Regions from separate parts of the Homo sapiens genome. Here region 1 is linked to region 2. The links are contacts of gene promoters, found by promoter capture Hi-C in blood cells and fetal thymus (Javierre and others, 2016). All regions are on one chromosome and are shown on one strand. The core of a region is centred on a gene start or on the middle of the fragment in contact, and the rest is flanking DNA. Distances in the headings are between cores, read along the strand shown.

Evidence for each region. Contacts are between HindIII fragments. The CHiCAGO score rates a contact against its expected background, and 5 or more counts as called.
Region 1: a fragment that was not itself captured here is called in contact with the fragment with the promoter of ERN2 in region 2 in 1 of 17 cell types (total B cells); the score reaches 5.1 in total B cells.

The regions. Positions count from the first base shown.
Region 1 is chr16:24,489,706-24,495,119 of GRCh38, reverse strand. It overlaps LOC105371143 (a long non-coding RNA gene), which reads left to right. Exons shown (of 4, transcript XR_950928.3): 1 at 1-136. Among named protein-coding and RNA genes, the nearest start is that of RBBP6, 47 kb to the left of the region's middle. The HindIII fragment of the contact is 5,778 bases long and covers 1-5,414 here.
Region 2 is chr16:23,711,468-23,716,501 of GRCh38, reverse strand. ERN2 (endoplasmic reticulum to nucleus signaling 2) reads left to right here and starts at 3,280. Exons shown (of 22, transcript NM_033266.4): 1 at 3,280-3,407. The coding sequence starts at 3,315. The HindIII fragment of the contact is 14,517 bases long and covers 1-5,034 here.

The DNA of each region.
Region 1 (5,414 bases), core at 1,280-3,779, 780 kb before region 2:
TCCCTTTCTCTCTGTTAAACCTCTTCTCTTAAACTCACTTCTTGCGTGTCCTCGTCCTCGATTTCCTTGGCGTAAGACGACGAACCTCAGGCATTTACCCCAGACAACGAAGGTGCTTCATAAGGTCATGCAGCTGGTAAGTGGCAGAGCGAGGATTTGAACGGAGGGAGTCTGGCTCCAAGGCTGGGCTCTCTCTCTCTCTCTCTCTCTCTCTCCCTCCCTCCCTCCCCCCACCTTCTCTCCTTTTTTCTCTCTCCCTTTCTTTCTCTCTTTCCTTCTCTGTTGCCCAGGCTGGAGTGCAGTGATGCAATCTCGGGTCACTGCAGCCTCTGCCTCTCCAGCTCAAGCAATCCTCCCACCTCAGCCTCCCAAGCAGCTGAAACTACAAAAATGCACCACTATGACCAGCTAATTTTTTTTTTTTTGAGACAGATTCTCACTCTGTCACCCAGGTTAGAGTGCAGTGGTGTGATCGTGGCTCATTGCAACCTCTGCCTCCCAGGTTCAAAGGATTCTGGTGCCTCAGCTCCTGAGTAGGGATTACAGGCACCCACCACCATGCCCAGCTAATTTTTCTATTTTTAGTAGAGAAGGGGTCTCATTATGTAGCCCAGGTTGGTCTCCTGGACTTAAGCAATCCTTTTACCCCAGCTTCCCAAAATGCTAGGATTTCAGGAGTGAGCCACTGTGCCTGGCCAAGGCTAGGCTCTTATCTCCCAGCCTATGTGACCTTCTGATGGTGTCACAGGTGAGGGGGGCATGGTACATGGCGGCTTGATTTTCACCAAGCACTCAACTTGGTTCCCAGTCCAACTCTGTTTCTGCCCTGGGGACCCTTCTTGATATTGGAAACGGATAAAGCCTGTGGGTTTTTGTTAAATTTATTTTTCCCCACACAACACTGATGTATCAAGGGGGTTTTACCCAGTCTGGATTATGACTTTGTCTTTGACTTTTGATTTTAAAAACTAAGCATTTGTTTCTATTGTTCTCTGGTTTTATGGTGACAACTTTCTCCCTAAGGCAATGAGTAGGTGACTCATGTTGCGTTGCCTAGAGGACGGGGTGGGGAAGGAGTGAGCGGGAAAGGGCGTCAGAGTACCGAGCATGATTCCACTTATAGGAGGGATTTAAAATAGTCAAATGCACGGAATCAAAGAGTGGAATGGTGGTTGCTAGGGACTGGGGGAGGGCAAAATGGGGAGTTACTAATCAATGGGCAGAAAGCTCCAGTCAAGCAAGATGAATAAGCTCTAGAAATCTGCCGTATGACATTTACCTATAGTCAGCAGGAATGTATTGGACACTTAAAAAATCTGTTAAGAGAGGAGATCTCATGTTGTGTTCTTTTTTCTTTTTTTTTTTTTTTAAGAGATGGGGGTCTTGCTATGCTGCCCAGGCTAGTCTTGAGCTCCTGGCCTCATGCGATCTTCTGCCTTGGCCTCCCAAAGTGCTGAAATTACAGGTGTGAGCCATTGCACCTGGCCCCTAGTGTTCTTATCACAATTAAAAAATAAAAAAAGATGGCCAGGCATGGTGGTTTGCACCTGTAATCCCAGTGCTTTGGGAGGCTGAGGTTGGGGGGATTGCTTGAGGTCAGGAGTTTGAGACCAGCCTGGGCAACACAGTGAGACCCAGTCTATATTTTAAAAAAGAGAGAGAAAGATGGACTATATCACATCTGTTTCTTTGCATCCCATTTTTCATCTCCTCCACCTTCACTTTGTTTTACTTCTTGTCAGCCTCAAGTCTTGGGGATGGGGTTGAAGATTCTGTGGCTAGCCCAGGTCTGCCTTTCTGGGATACACTGCCTGTCCAGGGAAGTGCTGCCCAAGAGAAATGTCATCTGACCCACACATGTAATTTTAAACTTTCTGCTAGCCACATTAGAAAGGTAAAGAGAGGCCGGCGTGGTGGGACATGCCTGTAATCTCAGCACTTTGGGATGCCAAGGTGGGAGATTGCTTGAGCCGTTTAAGATGAGCCTAGGCAAAATGGTGAGACCCTGTCTCCACAAAAATAAATAAATAGCTGGGCATGGTGGCTCAAGCCCGTAATCCTAGCACTTTGGGAGGTGGAGGTGGGCAGATTGCCTGAGCTCAGGAGTTCAAGACCCACCTGGCCAACATGGTGAAAGCCCATCTCTACTAAAAAAATATAAAAATTAGCCGGGGGTGGTGGCGTACATCTGTAGTCCCAGCTATTTGGGAGGCTGAGGCAGGAGAATCGCTTGAACCTAGGAGGCAGAGGCTACAGTGAGCCGAGATCGTGCCACTGCACTCCAGCCTGGGTGACAGAGTGAGACTCTGTCTCAATAAATAAATAAATATGAGGCCAGGCACGGTGGCTCACGCCTGTGATCCTAGCACTTTGGGAGGCCGAGGAGGGCAGATTACTTGAGGCCAGAATTTTGAGAGCAGCCTGGAAAACATAGCAAAACCTGTCTCTACAAAAAATTAAAAAATTTTGAGACTCCGTCTCAAAAAAAAAAAAAAATTAGCTGACTGAGGTGGGAGGATGGATTCAGCCCAGGAGGCTGAGGCTGCAGTGAGATATGATCACACCACTGACTCCAACCAAAAAATAAAAGACACCCATGACAATTTTCTTTTTTTTTTTTCTTTTTTTTTTTTTGAGACGGAGTCTCGCTTTATTGCCTAGGCTGCTGGAGTGCAGTGGCACAATCTCATCTCACTGCAACCTCCAACCCCCTACCACGGGTTCAAGTGATTCTCGTGTCTCAGCCTCCAGAGTAGCTGGGATTACAGGTGCCCCCCACCACGCCCAGCTAATTTTTGTATTTTCAATAAAGAGGAGGTTTTGCCATGTTGGCCAAGCTGTTCTCAAACTCCTGACCTCAAGTGATCCGCCTGCCTCGGCATCCCAAAGTTTTGGGATTACAGGCGTGAGCCACTGTACCCGGCTGACAATTTTCATAATGTTTTATTTAACCCAATATGACTAAATTACTGTTACTTCAGTGTGCTATTAATATAAAACATCGTTATTTTCTTTTTCCATACTAAAGTTTTTTAAAATACTGGGGTGTAATTTATACTAATGATCCCAACTTAATGCAGACTGACCACATTTCAAGTGCCCAATGGCCACATGTGCCCATGGATACTGCAATGGACAGTGGAGCTCTAGAGCTCTGAACCTCTGTGTTCTGGGGTGACCTCACTCCCGTGACTAATGTCAGAAGATGGCTGTAAGGCCCAGGGCTATTTGTGTCCAGCTCCAACTTAATCTCTCCTGGGGAAATGAGCTTTGTTCTCTTTTAGTGGAGAATCTGTCCTTGGTTTGCCCATTGTGGGATGTTTTCTAGAGCACAGATGCTAATGTTGTTCTAAAAAACTGGGGTTCTTGGCCAGGTGAGGTGGGTCACACCTGTAATCCCAGCACTTTGGGAGGTTGAGGTGGGTGGATCACTTGGTCAGGAGATCGAGACTATCCTGGCTAACACGGTGAAACCCCATCTCTACTAAAAATACAAAAAATTAGCCAGGTGTGGTGGTGGGCGCCTGTAGTCCTAGCTATTCAGGAGGCTGAGGCAGGAGAATGGCGTGAACCCGGGAGGCGGAGCTTGCAGTGAGCTGAGATCGCGTCACTGCACTCCAGCCTGGGCAACAGAGCGAGACTCCATCCCAAAGAACAAAACAAAACAAAACAAAACTGGGGTTCTTCATCAGGCAAGTAACAAAGACTCTTTATAGGGATGTAGGTTTGGATCAATAGGAGTTTTATTACTTGATACAAGTAAAGGAGAACATTGAGAGTATTCTCCAAAGCAGTGTCTTCCCAAGGGAAAGTGATAGGCGAGTTTTATGGGGTAATAGAGAAGGGAGAGGGTGCAGCATTGCGTGTAGTGGGGTCTCAGTTGTGCAGATGCGCTGAGCTATCATGCCAGCACATAGGTTGCATGTTAAGGTAATGAAGCTATAGCTCCTCTGGGGGTGGAGACTTTAGCATGGTAATGAGGAATGTTCACTTGGGTTCATCTGTAAGTTGTGGGAGTCTGCCAGGAGCTGGTTTTAACTGATTAGGTGACTGCATTCCATACAAGGTTTAGGAAGAAAAGGACTTCAGGGCAGGAGGCTATAAAACAGGCTGATTGCTCAAGTTCATTAAATTCTTGTAATCTCTGGAGACCCTCCCTATCTGCTTACACTAAGTAAACCTGACCTGCATGTTAGCATGGAGAGCAGAGGATGCTATGTATTCATTTAAAAATCATGTATTGAATATGTCATAAGCTCAAGATTCTGTTCTAACATGCAGTTCAGGCTCCTGGGGGATGGGACCAAAGCCTCAGTGTTTTTTTTTTTTTTTTTTTGAGACAGAGTCTCACTCTGTCACCCAGGCTGGAGTGCATTGGCACGATCTCAGCTCATTGCAACCTCTGCCTCCCAGGTTCAAGCAATTCTTGTGCCTCAGCCTCCTGAGTAGCTGGGATTACAAGCATGTGGCACCATGTCCAGCAATTTTTTTGTATTTTGGATTTCACCATCTTGGCCAGGCTGGTTTCGAACTCCTGGCCTCAGGTGATCCACCTGCCTCAGCCTCCCAAAGTGCTGGGATTACAGGTGTGAGCCACGTGCCGGACCTCAGTCTTTAGGATCAAAAGCGAAAGTCCCTGCCCTTGTGGAGCTTTCATTCCTTGGAGGGAAACAGGGAGGACAGGGAGTGCAGCTGGGGCTGAGGTGGTGTGCAAAGACCTCTCAGTAGTGATGTGACATTTGAATAAACACGAGAAGGAACTGAAGGATTGATAAGGGATGGGGAGGAAGCTGAGGAGTCAGTCTCCCTGGGTTCAGATCCTGGCTTCAGAGACTTCAGTTTTCAACCATGGCAGACTGGGAGGGACCAGATTTACTCTCTTGCTTTAAACAACTCAAAAACCCGATGACATATATGAAACAATAATTTCCGGACATTGAACCACAGATAGCACAATACAGAGATCCTGAAAGAAAGGAAATAGCTAAGTCTTTTGATGGCCACAGGTCTTGATGCAGAGAGGAGAAACACAACAGAATACGACAGTGTCCCTGCATTGAGAGTCTGGGGAGGCCAAGGCAAGGGAGTGAACCACACAGAAAGGATTTTGGAGCTGTTTAGAGCATTCCCCTCCATTTCTTAGCTGAGTACTGATCAGTACACGCCTGTGAAGAAACTCCCAGAGGCCAAGGAAAGACCACCAAGAAGGACCAGGTGGAGCTCACATAGGATCGGGAATTGTGTTCTTACTGACCAGAAAGGAAAGACCTCTCCATGAGTCCATTTTGCATTGCTCCAAAGGAATACCTGAGGCTAGGTAATTTATAAAGAAAAGAGGTTTATTTGGCTCAGGATTCTCAGGATTCTGTATAAGCAGCATGGCACCAGCCTCTGCTCAGCTTCTGGTGACAGGA
Region 2 (5,034 bases), core at 2,031-4,530:
CCATGAATGAACTTTTTAAAAAAATTTTATTTATTTATTTTTTATTTTTTTTATTTTTATTTTTGAGTTGGAGTGTTGATCTGTCTCCCAGGCTGGAGTGCAATGGCGTGATCTTGGCTCACTGCAACCTCTGCCTCCCGAGTTCAAGCAATTCTCCTGCCTCAGCCTCCTGTGTAGCTGGGATTACAGGCATGTGCCACTACGCCCTGCTAATGTTTGTATTTTTAGTAGAGACAGGGTTTCACCATGTTGGCCAGGCTGGTCTTGAACTCCTGACCTCAAGTGATTCACCCACCTCAGCCTCCCAAAGTGCTGAGATTACAGGATGAGCCCCTGCACCCAGCTGATTATTATTAATATTTTTGAGATAGTGTCTTGCTCTTTAGCCCAGGCTGGAGTGCAGTGGTGCAGTCACAGCTAACTGCAGCCTCCAGCTCCTAGGCTCAAGTGATCCTCCCACCTCAGCCTCCTGAGTAGCTGGGACTACAGGTGTGAGCCACCACACCTGTCCAGATATTTTCTTATTTAAATTTTTCTGAATTTTACAAAGTTTCTAGAATGTATATTGCTTTTATCATTACACACACACACACACACACACACAATTTATTCCAGTTCATTTGCAGTTTGTATTTTATGCAAGTCAAATTTTTTGCATGAGAAATGCCTGAATCCAAGCATAGTAAACACAATGTACATTTCAAAACAATGCAGAGTGTACAAAATATAGAGCAGAAAGGAGGGTTCATTCACACACTCAATAGCTTGGGTTAGGTTCTACAATGGCAAACAATCACTTTTGTTATAAAGTTAGGAGTACTGGGCCAATTTAGGGGTGTTGGAACAGCTAAGCATGAAAGAGCAACCAAGTAAACTAAAGACTTCATAATGTACATATTTCTTTGTTTTTGTTTTGTTTTGTCTTGTTTTTTATTTATTTATTTATTTTGAGACAAAGTCTCACTCTGTTGCCCAGGCTGGAGTGCAATGGCACGATCATGGCTCACGGCAGCCTCCACCTCCTGGGTTCAAGCAATTCTCCTGCCTCAGTCTCCCAAGTAGCTGGAATTACAGGCATGCGCCATCACGCCCGGCTAATTTTGGTATTTTTAGTAGAGACAGGGTTTCACCATGTTGGCCAGGCTGGTCTCAAACTGCTGACCTCAGGTGATCCACCCACCTCGACCTCCCAAAGTGCTGAGATTACATGCATGAGCCACCGCGCCCAGCCTGTTTTGTTTTTTAGAGACAGGGTCTCACTCTGTTGCCCAGGCTGGAGAGCAGTGGTGCTACCTGCAGCCTGGATCTCCTGGAATCAAGGGATCCTCCTACCTCAGCCTCCCAAGTAGCTGGGGCTACTAGTGCACACCAGCGTGCCTGGCTTATTTTTTATTTTTTGTAGAGACTGAGGTCTTGCTATGTTGCCCAGGCTGCTCTTGAACTTCTGAACCTGGTATGGCTTAGTGTGAAATAACTTTCACAAAAATCCCAACCTGTTTCAACCCAGCCTAAGACAGTGGTGTAGTTCCTTCAGATGGTCAGCTAGGAGGTCCAAGCAGGATAAGGACAAGGAAGGGGCTGACAGAGTGGAAGAGAGACTGAGGGATGAAGGTACCGTGTAGGTCAGGGCACAGGGATAAGGAGAATGAAAGGGTGAAACCGTTGCATGGAGAGGAGGCTGCAATCAGAGAAAGGGACATTGGAACTAAAGTGGTTCTGAGTGTGACAAGGGCCCAGTGCAGTTGTGGCGTGGGGGATAAGGTCTCCAAAGAGGTACACCCACTGAGAGGCTGCAATGCTGGCTAAGCTGTACCTTGGACATTGAAGACACCAAGGAGAGTGGCAGGATTTGTGATGGAGATGAAGGCTAGGGGCCAAGCTACCAAGTTTTCAGTAACTGTGAGGGGATGACCAGGAGGGCCAAGGATGACAAAGAGGACGGGGAGAAGGTGGCAGAGCTGGGCTGCATGACCCTCAAATCAGCAGGGATTTTTTTTTTTTTATTTTTACACAAGGATGAAGGAGACATGAATGAGTTGAAACTTGCAAACAGGGTGGACCTTACCTTCAAGGACCCTGGCAGACCCTCTCTGAACAAAACTGGAGACATCTACCAGGAGCAAGGGTGGTCACGGCCATTAGAAGGTGCCCTTCCATGCGGAGTTGTCTTACATCTAAGGCATAGGAATCTCTAAGCTCTACGAAGACAGGGACCTCATCATCTTGTTCATCAGGCAGGCATGTCATAGCTTATAATAAATGCATATTTATTGGCTGGGCGCGGTGGCTTATGCCTGTAATCCCAGCACTTTGGGAGGACGAGGTGAGCGGATCAACTGAGGTCAGGAGTTTGAGACCAGCCTGGCCAAAGTGGTGAAGCCCCATCTCTACTAAAAATACAGAAATTAGCTGGGCATGTTGGCCCACATTTTTAATCCCAGCTACTCGGGAGGAGGATTGCTTGGACCCAGGATGCAAAGGTTGCAGTTAGCCAAGATAGTGCCATTGCACTCCAGCCTGGGTGACAAGATCGACTCTGTCTCAAAAAATAAATACATGCATATTTATTTATTTATTTTATTTTTGGAGAGTGTGTCTCTCTCTGTCGCCCAGGCTGGAGTGCAATGGCACAGTTATAGCTCACTGCAGCCTTGACTTCCTGGCTCAAGCAATCCTCCCACCTCAGCCTCGCGAGTAGCTGGAACTACAGGTGGACATCACCACACCTGGCCATTTTTTTTTGTAGAGATGGGGTCTCACTATGTTGCTGGTCTCCAACTCCTGGTTTCAAGTGATCCTCCCTCCTAGGCCTCCCAAAGTGCTGGGATTACAGAGGTGAGCCACTTACCTGACCCATAATAAATATTTATTGAACGAACGACTGAATTCACCAATTAATCGCTATTTCCTGATAGCCCACCGGGATCCGCTGGTGCAATGATAAAGAGCGCAGGCTTTGAGATCAGGCGGATCTGTATTGGGACTGCGGCTCTCAGCCTCCGCTTGTACCTGCTGTGCAGTGAGGACTCCAGGAACTGATGATGAACCGGCACGGTCCTCGGCACGTGGCAAGTTCTCCATAAGTGGGCTCAGTAAAATCCCTCTCCCGGGAAAGCGCCCCACCGTGTTTGGTGGGGTGACTGGGACGCGAGGATGCGGCTGGGAGTGTGATGAGAAGGGCGGGGATCGGCGAGGACTCCAGGCTGGGGTTGCAGGCCCAGCCAGGGGCGGAGCCTTCTCCGGGTCGGGCGGGGACAGAGCGCTCCCTTGGAGGCACCCAGGGACCTGGCCAGCCGTGCAGCTGCCCAGGCGCTATGGCGAGTGCGGTCAGGGGGTCGAGGCCGTGGCCCCGGCTGGGGCTCCAGCTCCAGTTCGCGGCGCTGCTGCTCGGGACGCTGAGTCCACAGGTGAGAGCCAGGGACCGACGCCAAGTCCCCAAAGTCTGGTCGCGGGGCGCAGGGGGCGGCGTCGCACTTGGGGCGAGGGCGCGGCGGGGCCACGGGGGCACCTCTCCCTCCCTCACGCCTGGGTGGTCCCAACTCGGCCCCAACGGAGTAAAAGCCTCCTGGGTTTGGGGAGCCGCCAGTTGCCCCCAACAAATACCTAGCTGGGGAGATCTGCCAGCGTGGAAAGGCAAGAGTAGACAGAGCACCCCGCCTCTTCAGCAGGGAGAGGTGTAGTCTGGGGTAGGGGGGCACCTGGGCACGAAAGCCAGGCCTCTTAAAACTTCTGGGAATCCTGGCTTCCTTTGAAAATATGATTGACTTCAGGGCCCTCTGCTGAGAAATGAGCCTGCACGCCCAGTTTTGCAATTTCAGAGGCTTTACAATACGGTCCCCTTACCCATGGCTGCACCCCAGGTTCAGAACCTATGGGATAAATGAGCTGGGAGTGTCAGTATCTGCTCCCACGGTGCCAGGAATAGCAGAGTCTTACAGAAATGCAGCCAGGAGGCAAAAGTCGCCTGGCCTAAGAATCCAGGTGTCCCGCCTAGAACCCCCATGGGGCAAAAGCGATCAGGTAGAGTTAGGCACCTCTCATTCCCGGCTTCCACCTCATGGGTCCACCTCATGGTTGCCAGCTAAGAATGCAAGCCCAGTGTGGCCAGATCGGATGTCTCTGGAAAAATTAGAAATGAGAAAGATTTGAAATCTTGGTTTTTTTGTAGAAATCATCCAATTTTTAAAAAAATTGGCAGCTAATTGAAAAATTTTTAAGCACTAGATGGTCAAACAAAATTCATTTCTGGGCAACCAATCTGCAGCCTCTTCTCCAAACCGTTCTCCCTCCTGCCATGCTGCAGATGACAAAATTGAAGCCCAGAAAGAAAGAGGGGCTAGCAGATAATTTCCTGACCCTCCACTCAACACCAGTGGCCCAGCCCCAAACCTGAGGGTCCTGAAGCAGGATGTGGCCTTTGTAGGGGTGCGGCTGGGCCACCCGGATGTTAGGCCTCCTGCTGGGAGCTCAGCCTCACCCTGTTTGCTCAAGGAGGGACTGGAGCAGGTGAGTGAGCCCAGGATCGCCAGATGTAAGTACGGGTGGCTCCAGCCCCCCTCCCAAGGGCACCCCCCAGCCTTGGGTCAAGGGACCCACTGGAGCCTGGCACCAAAACCAGCTGGGCTGGTTTGGGGAGGCAGAAAGGGGCATCCCAAAAGAGGTAGACATTGTGGCAGAGGAAAAAGAGGCCAGGCATAGGAATCAGAGGGATGGCAACTCAAGTCCTTAGTTTTGCCACTTATTATCTCTGTGGCTTTATGCCAATGACCTAACCAATGACCTAACTTTCCTGAGCCTCAGTCTCCCTCCTCTGTAGAATGGGAAAACTAATAATACCAGTCTTAGAATGGGTGCAGTGGCTCATGCTTGTAATCCCAATACTTTGGGAGGCTGAGGCAGGAGGATCGCTTGAGGCCAGGAGTTCCAGACCAGCCTAGACAACATAGCAAGACCCCATCTCTACAAAAAAATACAAAAATTAGCCAGGTGTGATGACAGACACCCGTAGTCCCAACTACTTGGGAGGCTGAGGTG